Regions from separate parts of the Homo sapiens genome. Here all the other regions are linked to region 3. Evidence: promoter capture Hi-C in 16 types of primary human blood cells and fetal thymus (Javierre and others, 2016). All regions are on one chromosome and are shown on one strand. The core of a region is centred on a gene start or on the middle of the fragment in contact, and the rest is flanking DNA. Distances in the headings are between cores, read along the strand shown.

What was found. The method cuts DNA at HindIII sites, captures the fragments that hold promoters and counts their contacts. A CHiCAGO score of 5 or more calls a contact.
Region 1: a contact is called between a fragment that was not itself captured here and the fragment with the promoter of PSEN2 in region 3, in 3 of 17 cell types (total CD8 T cells, naive CD8 T cells and erythroblasts). The highest score is 5.7, in total CD8 T cells.
Region 2: a contact is called between a fragment that was not itself captured here and the fragment with the promoter of PSEN2 in region 3, in 2 of 17 cell types (M1 macrophages and M2 macrophages). The highest score is 5.9, in M1 macrophages.

The regions. Positions count from the first base shown.
Region 1 is chr1:226,607,989-226,611,617 of GRCh38, forward strand. STUM (stum, mechanosensory transduction mediator homolog) reads left to right here. Exons shown (of 4, transcript NM_001003665.4): 4 at 1-1,242. Among named protein-coding and RNA genes, the nearest start is that of STUM, 61 kb to the left of the region's middle. The HindIII fragment of the contact is 6,073 bases long and covers 1-3,629 here.
Region 2 is chr1:226,543,795-226,547,116 of GRCh38, forward strand. No RefSeq gene overlaps it. Among named protein-coding and RNA genes, the nearest start is that of STUM, 3.3 kb to the right of the region's middle. The HindIII fragment of the contact is 3,206 bases long and covers 307-3,322 here.
Region 3 is chr1:226,869,146-226,872,643 of GRCh38, forward strand. It overlaps PSEN2 (presenilin 2), which reads left to right and starts at 1,471. Exons shown (of 13, transcript NM_000447.3): 1 at 1,471-1,504; 2 at 2,117-2,259. It overlaps LOC105373119 (a long non-coding RNA gene), which reads right to left and starts at 1,405. Exons shown (of 3, transcript XR_949226.4): 1 at 1,217-1,405. RefSeq lists silencers at 1,274-1,873, 1,884-1,933. The HindIII fragment of the contact is 3,629 bases long and covers 1-2,149 here.

The DNA.
Region 1 (3,629 bases), core at 470-2,969, 260 kb before region 3:
AGCACTTTTTTCCCTCATCACATCCCTGACCCCTGCCCAGCCCACATGCACATGCTGTTTCCTGTCTCCAGGGCCCTAGCCTGTGGATCTCTTCCTCCCATGCACTCCTAGGGTGAATGGGCTCAGCACCAAACCTGGCTGTGCCCATTCCCCACAACCCCAGCTTGGCCTCCTGTGGGAAGGAGAAGGCAGACCTGCCCAGAGGAGAGGGGCAGTGTTCCCACCCACCTGCTCCAGCACAGGAACCAGGGAGGAAAGAAGGGAGAGGGAGGTTCCATTCACCGTTTTCTGGGTTAGCGCTTGATTGGATGTTTCAAGCAAGGGACAAGGTGATGGTGGCTGTAATAGGCTCCTCGTGGGCACCGTCACCCCAGAAGGCCTGGGCACCCATGAGAACCTGTGGCCAGCCCTTTTCATTGGCTGAGTTCCCTGCTGTTGTGCGTGGTGCCATTTTTTTTTTAAACAACATATATAAAAACAAAACAACTGGTTCTGTGTGTATCAACTTAATTTGCATATGAATGAGTGTTGTGTTGTGATTTGCAGTGTTTTGACACCGTGATTGGCTTTGTTTGGGTCTCTCTTCTTTCTGTGAAATTAACTGCTGTGCGTTTTCACTGTTCTTAGAGAAGACCCTGAGCTCCTGGGGTTTTCTTGTCTCACTTCTACCCTGACCTGCTGGGAGCCCACCCCACCCCAGTCCAGCCATGAGGGTATTTCCAGCCTATTCCAATGACTGAAACCCTTCTTGGAAGAAAACGTCTAATGTCGGGGACGTAGGGACGCTTCCAGACTTGCCCTGGCCGGAACCCTGCAGCCTGGGGCCCCAGCCCGCCTGCAGCTCAGCTTTCCCCAACACCCTCAGGACCCAGCCCCAGCCCCGGCAGACCTTCCCTGGGAGCTGCTTAGGTGGTCTCCACAGCGCCCTCTAGGGGCCAAGCAGGGTTCCAGATTCTCCAGCCTTCTGCCAGCTTTAAAACCCTTCACTCAAGCAGCATTACTGTACATGCAATGAAAAATACTATATATGACAGTCAAAACCTGTGTACATATTTCCATGTACATATTTATACATACACACACCTTCCTATTATAAATATATAAAGCATGACATCTCTTTGGCATTCCAAGTTTGTGTTTTTTTAAATCCTTGGAAATACGGCTTTGGAAACCTTTTTCTTCCTTTCCCTCTTTTCTATGTTGTAATAAACATTCATGTGACCTTTCTGGTAGTTTCTCAAATCCCTGTGTCCTCCCGTGTTCCTAATCGGACAGATCTCTGGGACAACGCGCCTTCCTCCCCACCTCTGCAGCCTTTGCTATTGGTTGGCTTTCCGTTATGAAGGCTGTCCTCCCCCAAGGCGGGTCTTGAGTTCTTTCAGACCTTTTTCCCGAATTCCCCTTCTTCCGAAAGGCTTGTGCAAGTTACTCTTCAAACAGCCTCATCTTTGATAATCTGATCCCTTTGCAACCAGGAATTTGCGTGCTAAATCAAGCATCAGGCCCCAGATTGAGTTTACCAAGAATAAGTGTACAGATGCAGCTCATTTCCTGCTGTTAATTGTTAGACTGGTTGATGAGGGAAATGTGGGCAACATACATATTTGACAAAGACTTCTGAATAAATGAGAGTCTGGGTAAGAGTGGTTAGGAGAATGTATAACTACCTGTTCAGTTACAACGAAGGACAGGTTGCACCTGGGAGAGAATTGCATCCACAACCCAGCCAATGCCTTTACTCATAATGGGATGAAGACCTACAGAACTGACCAAATTTGTGGATAAGGAGAAATAAGTATATTAGACGAACAAATCAGAATCCCAAAATCTCCTGACGGGCAGAGGCAATCTAACTCGATGAAATCTAATAGCATTCAATGAAAGAGTTGTGCTTGACATGAAGAAAGCTCCGTGCTTTCCTTCATCCCTGGGGAGTTACTCAACAGGCAGCTCAGTGTTCTTCACGGCATGCTGGGGCTGACTACACAGGCCATCTGGTTTCAGATGCACGAGGAGCTGCAGGCTGGGGTCCGGAATGAAACCGCATCTGCAGCGTTGCATTCAGTACTGGGTGCCATGGGGGAGCAAGTGCTCTGACAACGAGTGTCCAGGTGTCATTCCTGTCACTCACACCCAAGGGAAGGGCCCCGCCCTGCCTCCTGCCATTTCCTCAGGCCAGCCCAGCACCCTTAGGGTCCACTTACCCCAGGAGAGGCTGCAGTCTTAATGGCCTCGATGCTGCTGTTGTCCAAAAGAGTGAATCATCTTCAAAGCACAACCTCTGGTGAGACTTGAAGCTCTACTGCGATGGCCCCTCCAAGGCCCCAGAAATGGCATCTGTGCCTGAGGATGATTTCAGTTGCTGCTAAGACCAGGACCTAAAGCCCAAGGCAGTACAATGACCTAAGGCACTCTCAGAGTCCCCCAGACACTCTAGGGAGCATTTTGTGATCACTTGCATTGTCCAAACACTCGATGTGCTCAGATTAAACTGGAATGCCCCGGCTGGAGGATTCTTCTGCAGTCACTCAGTTTCAGAGGGGCTCATCAGAAGGCACAATGGGAGATAAAGTTAGCTCCCCTTCCAGCACTGCCAAGTGAAGGGAAGATACCATTTGAATGTACTAACTCACATTCCTTCTCTTCTCCCAGCACCAAGCCTCTTAACCTCAGGAAGGGTCACGTGGGTTGAGCCAGCCACTGCCTCTCTGCTGGGGGGTGACAACTTTGACAGAGTTCTCCTCAAACCCAGAAGGAAAGGGCTGTGACAAACATGTAGGCATCTGCTCCCCGCAACTCCCTACACCCCAGACCCTAGGCCCTGGGAGAGGCTCATGCTTGCCAGTGGCCAGTCACAGGAAGGGACACATGAGGATGTGCAGGGGACGAGGGGCTCGAGGAGATGGGAAGGCAGTGCTTGGGTTTGAGGACGGGGTTGGCGATGCATTCCTCAGAGGAGGAGCACAGCCCAAACCTAGTGCAGTGAGAGTCCCAGGTGGGGGACCCTGGGAGGCACATCAGTGCAGGCTGCATGTTGGGCCACCGAAACCAGAGGATGGGTCTTCATTCCCAAGAGGACCAAGATGGACATTTCTGGGCTCCTAATACCAAGTCAGCCTCTGAGTAAAGCCTTAGGGAAGGGTCATGGGACCCAAGATTCAGTTTACATAAAACACGTCAGGAACAACTTGGGGTGATAAAGTTGCAGGACTTTTCCTTAGTTCAGCCAAGAAAATTCAGGCTCACAGACAATTTGAATGGTGAGTGAGACAGGGTTTTATTGGGTGAAAAGGAAGAAAAGGGGGAAACAGGGAGTCTCGCTGGGCCAGAGACCCTGCTAGAGCGCTTCCTGCCCACAGCTTGAGTCCCAGGTTCCACATAGGAAAGGGGGGGCGAGGCTCCTCCCTGCTGCAAACGTCATGAACTTCCCAAGGCTCCACCTCACTGTGCAGGCCGGTTGGAGTTTCTGCAGTGACCCCCTCCCACCTGGCTGTCCCATTCCCGCCTCGAAAGAAGTCCATCTAACTGCCCTTAGATTAAGGATAAGGATGAAGACTGATCTTAACTGCTTCCTGCTGACAGGGGGCACTGTTTTTGGGAAATGGCAGTCAGAGGTCCCTCAGATGCCT
Region 2 (3,322 bases), core at 660-3,159, 320 kb before region 3:
CCACCCTGATTGGGAACTTTAAATCACATCTGCAGAATTCCTTCACGGAAACACCCAGATTTGTATTTGATTAGATACCTCAGAGAAGTGTGTGAAAACTACAAAATGGCTGCTGCCTCCCTTCTGCCTTCCAACTCTTGAGCAAGAATATTCCCATTGGCCCAACATAAATGGAAACTAACTAGAAAGGGAATTCTGTGGGCTAGAGTTGAGCCTAGCCAAGTTGATACATCAAAAAGACATTACATCCATACTTTTTTCCCCATAAACTAAATTTGAGTTGTGTTCCATCACTTGGCATGAAAAAGCTTCTGATTCAGTTGCCATTTACTTATTGAGTGCCTTATACGTATTATCTCACTTAATCCTCTTATACACAAATGAGCTAGGTATTATTTACAATTTTGAAGACCGAAGCTCAGAGAGGTTAAAAAACTTTTTCAAAGGCTCAGAGCTTCAAACAAAGTTTGTCTTTCCACTGCTGATGCTATGATGCCAGTCTTTGCCAAAAAGGAACCACCTGGAAGCTCTCTTCCAGGTTGGAATAGGAATTCCTCATGCAGTTTGGAAGCTGACTTCAGCAAATTTTTATTTTAGCTAAAAAATGTCCAAAACTTGATGTACTTTATTCATCTGATGACAGAACAAGGCCAAGAAATATATTTTTATCTTCATGACCCAGTGCTTGGCCCAGATGTATTATTTGGCTGATGTAATGAACTGTTTGGTCTGTTTCCCCTGTTGCGTTTGTGTCTGATTTTTTGAGATGATCATTTAAGGTTTTAACTTTTATTCGGAAGCCTCTTCCTCCCTGAAATACCTTAGATCTTAAACTCTCCTACAAACATCAGCTGCAATCACAATGTCAAGTAGATGCTGTATAAACCTCTTGCAAGAGCGGTAAGGAAAAAAGGAATGTACAGATGAACAATATAAGAAATGAAAGAGGAGACATCATTACAGCTTTGACAGACATTAAAAAGATAAGAGGAAAGTAGAAAAAGTTTTATGCCAACAAATTCCATAACTTCCACGAAATGGACACGTTCCTAGAAAAGGGATACATAGCATGTGAGACATTTTAGCTAGGATCTCAGAGAGTTAAATCTCCCAACTGCCAAATCTAAGGGCACTTTTGGGGTTTTACCTTACCCTTCAGTGAATTTGACACTGCTGACTGCATCCTCCTTAAAATCTTCCTGTTTTGGCTTCCATGAAACACTGTTAGTAGTGTTTCTCCATGTAAACCTCGTTTCCCTCCTTTTTCCTTTCTGCTTAATTACAGAAATTCTGTAACTTTTTTTTTTTTTTTGAGACAGAGTCTCACTCTGTTGCCTAGGCTGAAGTGCAGTGGTGCGACACGGCTCACTGCAGCCTCGACCTCCCCATGCTCAGGTGATCCTCCCACCTCAGCCTCCTGAGTAGCTGGGACTAGAAGTGTGCACCACCACGCCCAGCTAATTTTTGTATTTTTCGTACAGATGGAGTTTTGCCATGTTGCCCAGGCTGGTCTTGAACTCCTGGGCTCAAGTGATCCTCTTGCCTCAGCGTCCCAGTGTTGGGATTACGGGCATGAGCCACTGCGCCCAGCCTCTGTGACTTTTTAAATTCCACATCTGCATACAGGGCTCTAACTACCATTTGTATGCTGATGGCTCCCAAATCTGCAGCCCCAATTGCTTCCTTGATTCTCGATTTGACTCAATATCCAACTTTTATCAAGACAATTATCTATGCTGGCCATTTATCAATGAGTCCCCGCTACCTCTCGGATGTGTTCAGACCCTTCAAACTCATTTCCTCCTTGTCTGCTATTAATACCCAGTTTTCATTTGGGAACTGTCCCTACCCCATTCTCAGTCCTTTTCAGTCAGGAAGAGTCCTCCTCCCCCTCAGCCTCTATATAAGCATGTGACCTGATTTTATCCCCTCCAGCCCATCTTCCACACTGTGAACAAATATATCTCATAATGGTGGTGGTTTTAAAGCCTAGGCCCAAGTCTTTGACACCCCTCCATAGAGAGGCGGGGTGTCCCCCATGAAATCTGGGCAGGCTTGTGACTGCATCGACCAGTAAAGCCCTGCAGAAGTGACACTGTGTGACTTCCAAAGTTAGGGCAGAAAAGTCCAAGTCCACACAGCTTCCACTGGTCCTGCAATGTTCATTCTCTGGGGGCCTCCTCTCAGGAAATTCCCTCTCAGAAGCCAGCTGTCATAGTGTGAAAAGTCCAAGTCACGTGGGGAGGCCATGTGTAGGCGCTTTGCTGACCCATCCTAGTTGACCCAGCTTTCAAGTTACCCCAGTCCAGGCAGGCTGAGATTCCTGAGAATCTTCTCAGAAGTGGATCCTCTAGCCCCAGCTGTTCCAGCTATCAGCCATTTCAGTCTCCCGAGCTGAGGCTCCAGATACAAGGAGCAAAGAAGAATTATCTTGGTGTGCTCTGTCCAAGCTCCTGACCACAGAATTTGTGATCAGAAAAAAATGGTTGTGTTAAGCTGCTAAATTTGGGGGTAATTTGTGACACAGTGATAGTAACTGGAACACTTATGCCACACCCCTGCTTAAAATGTTCCAGTGATTCTGCATCACCACCACCGAGATGAAGTCCAAATTCCTTTGCCATTCAGTACTAGATGCCTGTCCACCCCACCAGATCCATCTCCTGTCTCTGCCCACACAAGCCCTAGTGCCAGCCACACTGCAATTCCTGGAATCATCCCTACTTCCCTGGGCTCCCATGCCTTTGTATATTTTGTTGCTCTGCCTGGATGTCTTTCTGACATCCAAGATATTCAGCAAATCATCTGGAAAACTGGGGGATGCAAATCCACTGACGTCCCTGAAATCCTTTTTCTCCAGGAGGAATGATTGACTGGCCCTAAGACAGTTCAAGTGCTCTGCAAAAGAATATTCACAGAATGTGGGTTATTTTCTAGGTCTCTGAATAAAATACTGGTTATATAGAATTGATTCTGGAGCCAGATTGCCTGCATTCAGCTGCCAGCTCTACCACTGATTAGTGGGGGACTTTGTGCAGCCTGTTTAACTTCTCTGTGCTTCAATTGCCCCATCTGTAAAATGGGGTAATAAATAATCCTTACTTTGTAGAGTTATGGTAAGGATTAAAAGAGTTAAAATGTGTAAAGGGTTTTTAGAATGATGCCTGGCAGAGAGTGCTTGGGTAAATAAGTGTTTGTTGAAAATAAAACAAATCTGCAAATAGTTAACTGTAGTCATTGCTCAAGTCCCTTTGAGTATCGCCTTCTTTGGGACACCTCCCCGAGGCCTCCCCCACGCTAGCTGGCTTCACAGATAGGTCCA
Region 3 (3,498 bases), core at 221-2,720:
TGGAAACCACTTGGGGTTCCCCAAATAGTTAAACACTGAAGGCTGGGCACGGTGGCTCATGCCTATAATCCAGCACTGTGGGAGGCCAAGGCAGGCAGATAACTTGAGTTCAGGATCAAGACCAGCCTGGCCAACATGGGGAAACCCCATCTCTACTAAAAATACAAAAATTAGCCAGATGTGGTGGCACACACCTGTAACTCCAGCTACTCAGGAGGCCGAGGCAAGATAATTGCTCGAACCTGGGAGGCAGAGGTTGCAGTGAGCCAAGATTGCGGCCACTGCACTCTAGGCTGGGCAACAGAGCAAGGCTCTGTCTCAAAAAAAAAAAAAAATTGAATTACCATGCGATCCAACAATTCAACCCCTATGTATGTACCCTCCCCAAATAAAAATGGGCTCTCAAACAAATACATGTACATGCATGTTCATGGTAGCATTATTCACAAAGCCAAAAGATGCAAACAGCCCCAATGTCCATAGATGAATAAACTGTGGCATACATGATACACACACACACACGCACACACATATACATATACACACACAAACACTATTCAGTCATAAAAAGGAATAAAGTCTGTTACATGCTACCTGAGGATGAACCTCGAAAACATGCTAAGTGAAAGACACAAAAGTCCACACACTGTGATTCCGTTTATATGAAGTATCTAAAGTAAGTAAATATAGAGACAGAAGTAGACTGGTAATTGCCAGGGGCTGGGGGGGAAGAGGGCATTGGGAAGAAACTTCTCAATGGGTATGGGGTTTTTCTTTCGGAATGAGGAAAATGTTTTGGAACTAGACAGAGGTGGTGGTTGCACAGCATTGTGAATTCACTAAATGCCACTGAAATGCCCACTTTAAAATGGTAAATTTTATGTTATGTGAATTTCACCTTAAGTTAAAAAAAAAAAAGTAAAACTACTCAGACAACGCCAAATTATTGACAATCTCAACCTACCCCACAGACCCCAAATCCTGGAACCACAACCCCCTAGGCCAATTCTCAGGTCAGGCAGCAATTTATTCCTGTTCAATTTTATGCAGAGCTCCTGGTGGCTCTGAAGCGCCCTAGGGAACAGACCAGGAACATTCTCATGGTGTTAGCTCACATTGGGCCATTAGTGCTCCTTTAATGTGAGAACAACCGGGAGGAGGAGGGGATGTGGACCCAAAACTACAAGAAAGAGTGTCCTCGAAGCCTATGTCCTACCGCCCCACGCTGCTGCCAGGCCCGCAGGAAGATGACAGGCCCGGCCTCCACTCCTTCTAAGGTCGTCGCTTAGTTCCGACGTCGGGATGACCCTGTCATCCACGCGGCGTGAAGGCCACCCTCCCCGCGCGCCCGGGACTCCAGGTGGGGCCCCAGTGGACGAGGGAACGCGGCGTCGCCCACCGGGCGTGGCCTGGGCGGGCGTGGGGCGGGGCCTGGGCCGGCGCCGGGTCCGGCCGGGCGCTCAGCCAGCTGCGTAAACTCCGCTGGAGCGCGGCGGCAGAGCAGGTGAGCGGGCGGTGCCGGGGGGTGCCCAGGCCAGGGCCCTGTCGCCTGCGGCGCTGAGGGCCCGGGGTGGGGCTGCGCCCTGAGGGCCCTGCCCTGCCCTCCGCACGCCTCTGGCCACGGTCCCTTCCCCGGCTGTGGGTCTGCGGCCCCTGCGTGCGCAGCGCTCCTGGCCTCTGCGGCCAGCGCGGGGGCGGAGAGAGGAGAGTGCCCGGCAGGCGGCGGCTGGGCCGGCCCGGAACTGGGTCGTGGAAGGATCGCGGGGAGCGGCCCTCAGGCCTTCGGCCTCACTGCGTCCCCACTTCCCTGCGCCCGCCTGCCGCCGAGCCCCGGCTGGGGGTGGGCGCGGCGCGAGCGGTTAAAGGGCCGGTGCATTTAAAGGAGCGGTGCACGTGGGTCTCTGAGGCGTGTAGCAGGCGGGGGCGTTTTGTTCTTCTTCTCTCTCGCCGGAGACCTCCGTTGCGCCGAGTCCATTCGGCCTCTAGCACCGGGTCCTGGGCATGCTTTCCCCGGGAAGGAGGCGCGCGGGGGCTCTGCCCGCACGTGAGGGGCAGGGCCGCAGGCTCAAGCCTAGAGCCGGTTTCTGTTAGCAGCGGTGTTTGGCTGTTTTATCAGGCATTTCCAGCAGTGAGGAGACAGCCAGAAGCAAGCTTTTGGAGCTGAAGGAACCTGAGACAGAAGCTAGTCCCCCCTCTGAATTTTACTGATGAAGAAACTGAGGCCACAGAGCTAAAGTGACTTTTCCCAAGGTCGCCCAGGTACGATATAGCAGAGCCAGGCTTCGACCCCAGTGTCCTGGCTTCTAGATCTGCTGTCCATCCCTCCGAGCAGACCTCACCCCTGTTTATTGCCTTAATAAGTATTCCCTTTGAAAGGTATGAACGGTGTTGAGTGAAGTAACTGCATCCCTATTTACAAATGGAGAACCTGAGAGCATTCCATAGAGACGATTGTAGACTAACTTAACTCAGAAGCGACAGCCTGGGGTTGCCAAGGCTGTCTACGAAGTAACTTGATTAGGACCGACCCCAGCTTCCAGTAAGGAAGCCTCTGATGCCTCTGTAGCCAATTCTGCAGACACCTGAGCCTCCAAGGCCTTCAGCCAAGACCTTTGGCGGTAATTGGAGTCTCGGGATAAGCTGCTTCAGGTGTGTGAGCCTCAGGTTCTTCTCTCCTGAATGTGGTTGTGGGCAGCCGGTGACTGGCGCAGGTGCAGAAGGGGCCTGGTTCTTGGCCCCACCTCAGAGCTGCGTCCTCACGACGCCCACGTTGAGCCTTGGGTTCCAGGGCAGAGACTGGAGTGAGGGCTTGGGGGCATGTTGCTTTGAAGTGGGATGGATGTATCAGGTTTTTGGGGAAAACTCTGTACCCTTTGGTGTTGAAGTGCCCATGTGCCAAGTCTTGAGTCCAGCATGTTCACATGTGGGGAGTGAGTGGCTTGTTCCTGTCTATTTGAAAGAGCAGCAAGGAGGAGGAGGAGCAAGGGCTAGGGGCTGCTGCTGGGGTGCCTGGAGCTGTGGTGCATAATGTCACACCTGTCTCCCCTCCGTAGCTGCTCACCGTCCCCCCAAGGGGGGTTTGCCTCTTGCCTACTTTGGCCTTTCTCTGTTATCGATGTTAATAATGACATATATCTCGCTTATGAGTTGGTCATAATAAAAAGCTATCTTGTACAGAATATTAGAATTTAAGATCTTAAGAATTTCAATGACACTGAAATAGTTTATTATTACCTTTTTACAGAAGAGGAAACAAGTTCAGGGAGTTAAGCAGCTAGTCCAGTTATGTGGCTTCAGTGCTTTAAGCACCAGGATTTGAACATAGCTGGCTACACTGTCTTTATCTCTTGAGTTTTTGCGCAGGAGGTTCCTGTATTCAACTCCTACCCGTGTCTCTCCACTACTGCTGGGAAAGTTTTGTGGAGTCCCCATGAGCAACTTCCTGACAAACAAACAAAATTTTTTTAAAGAAACCAAAGCAGTGTGTGTAGGTCACAT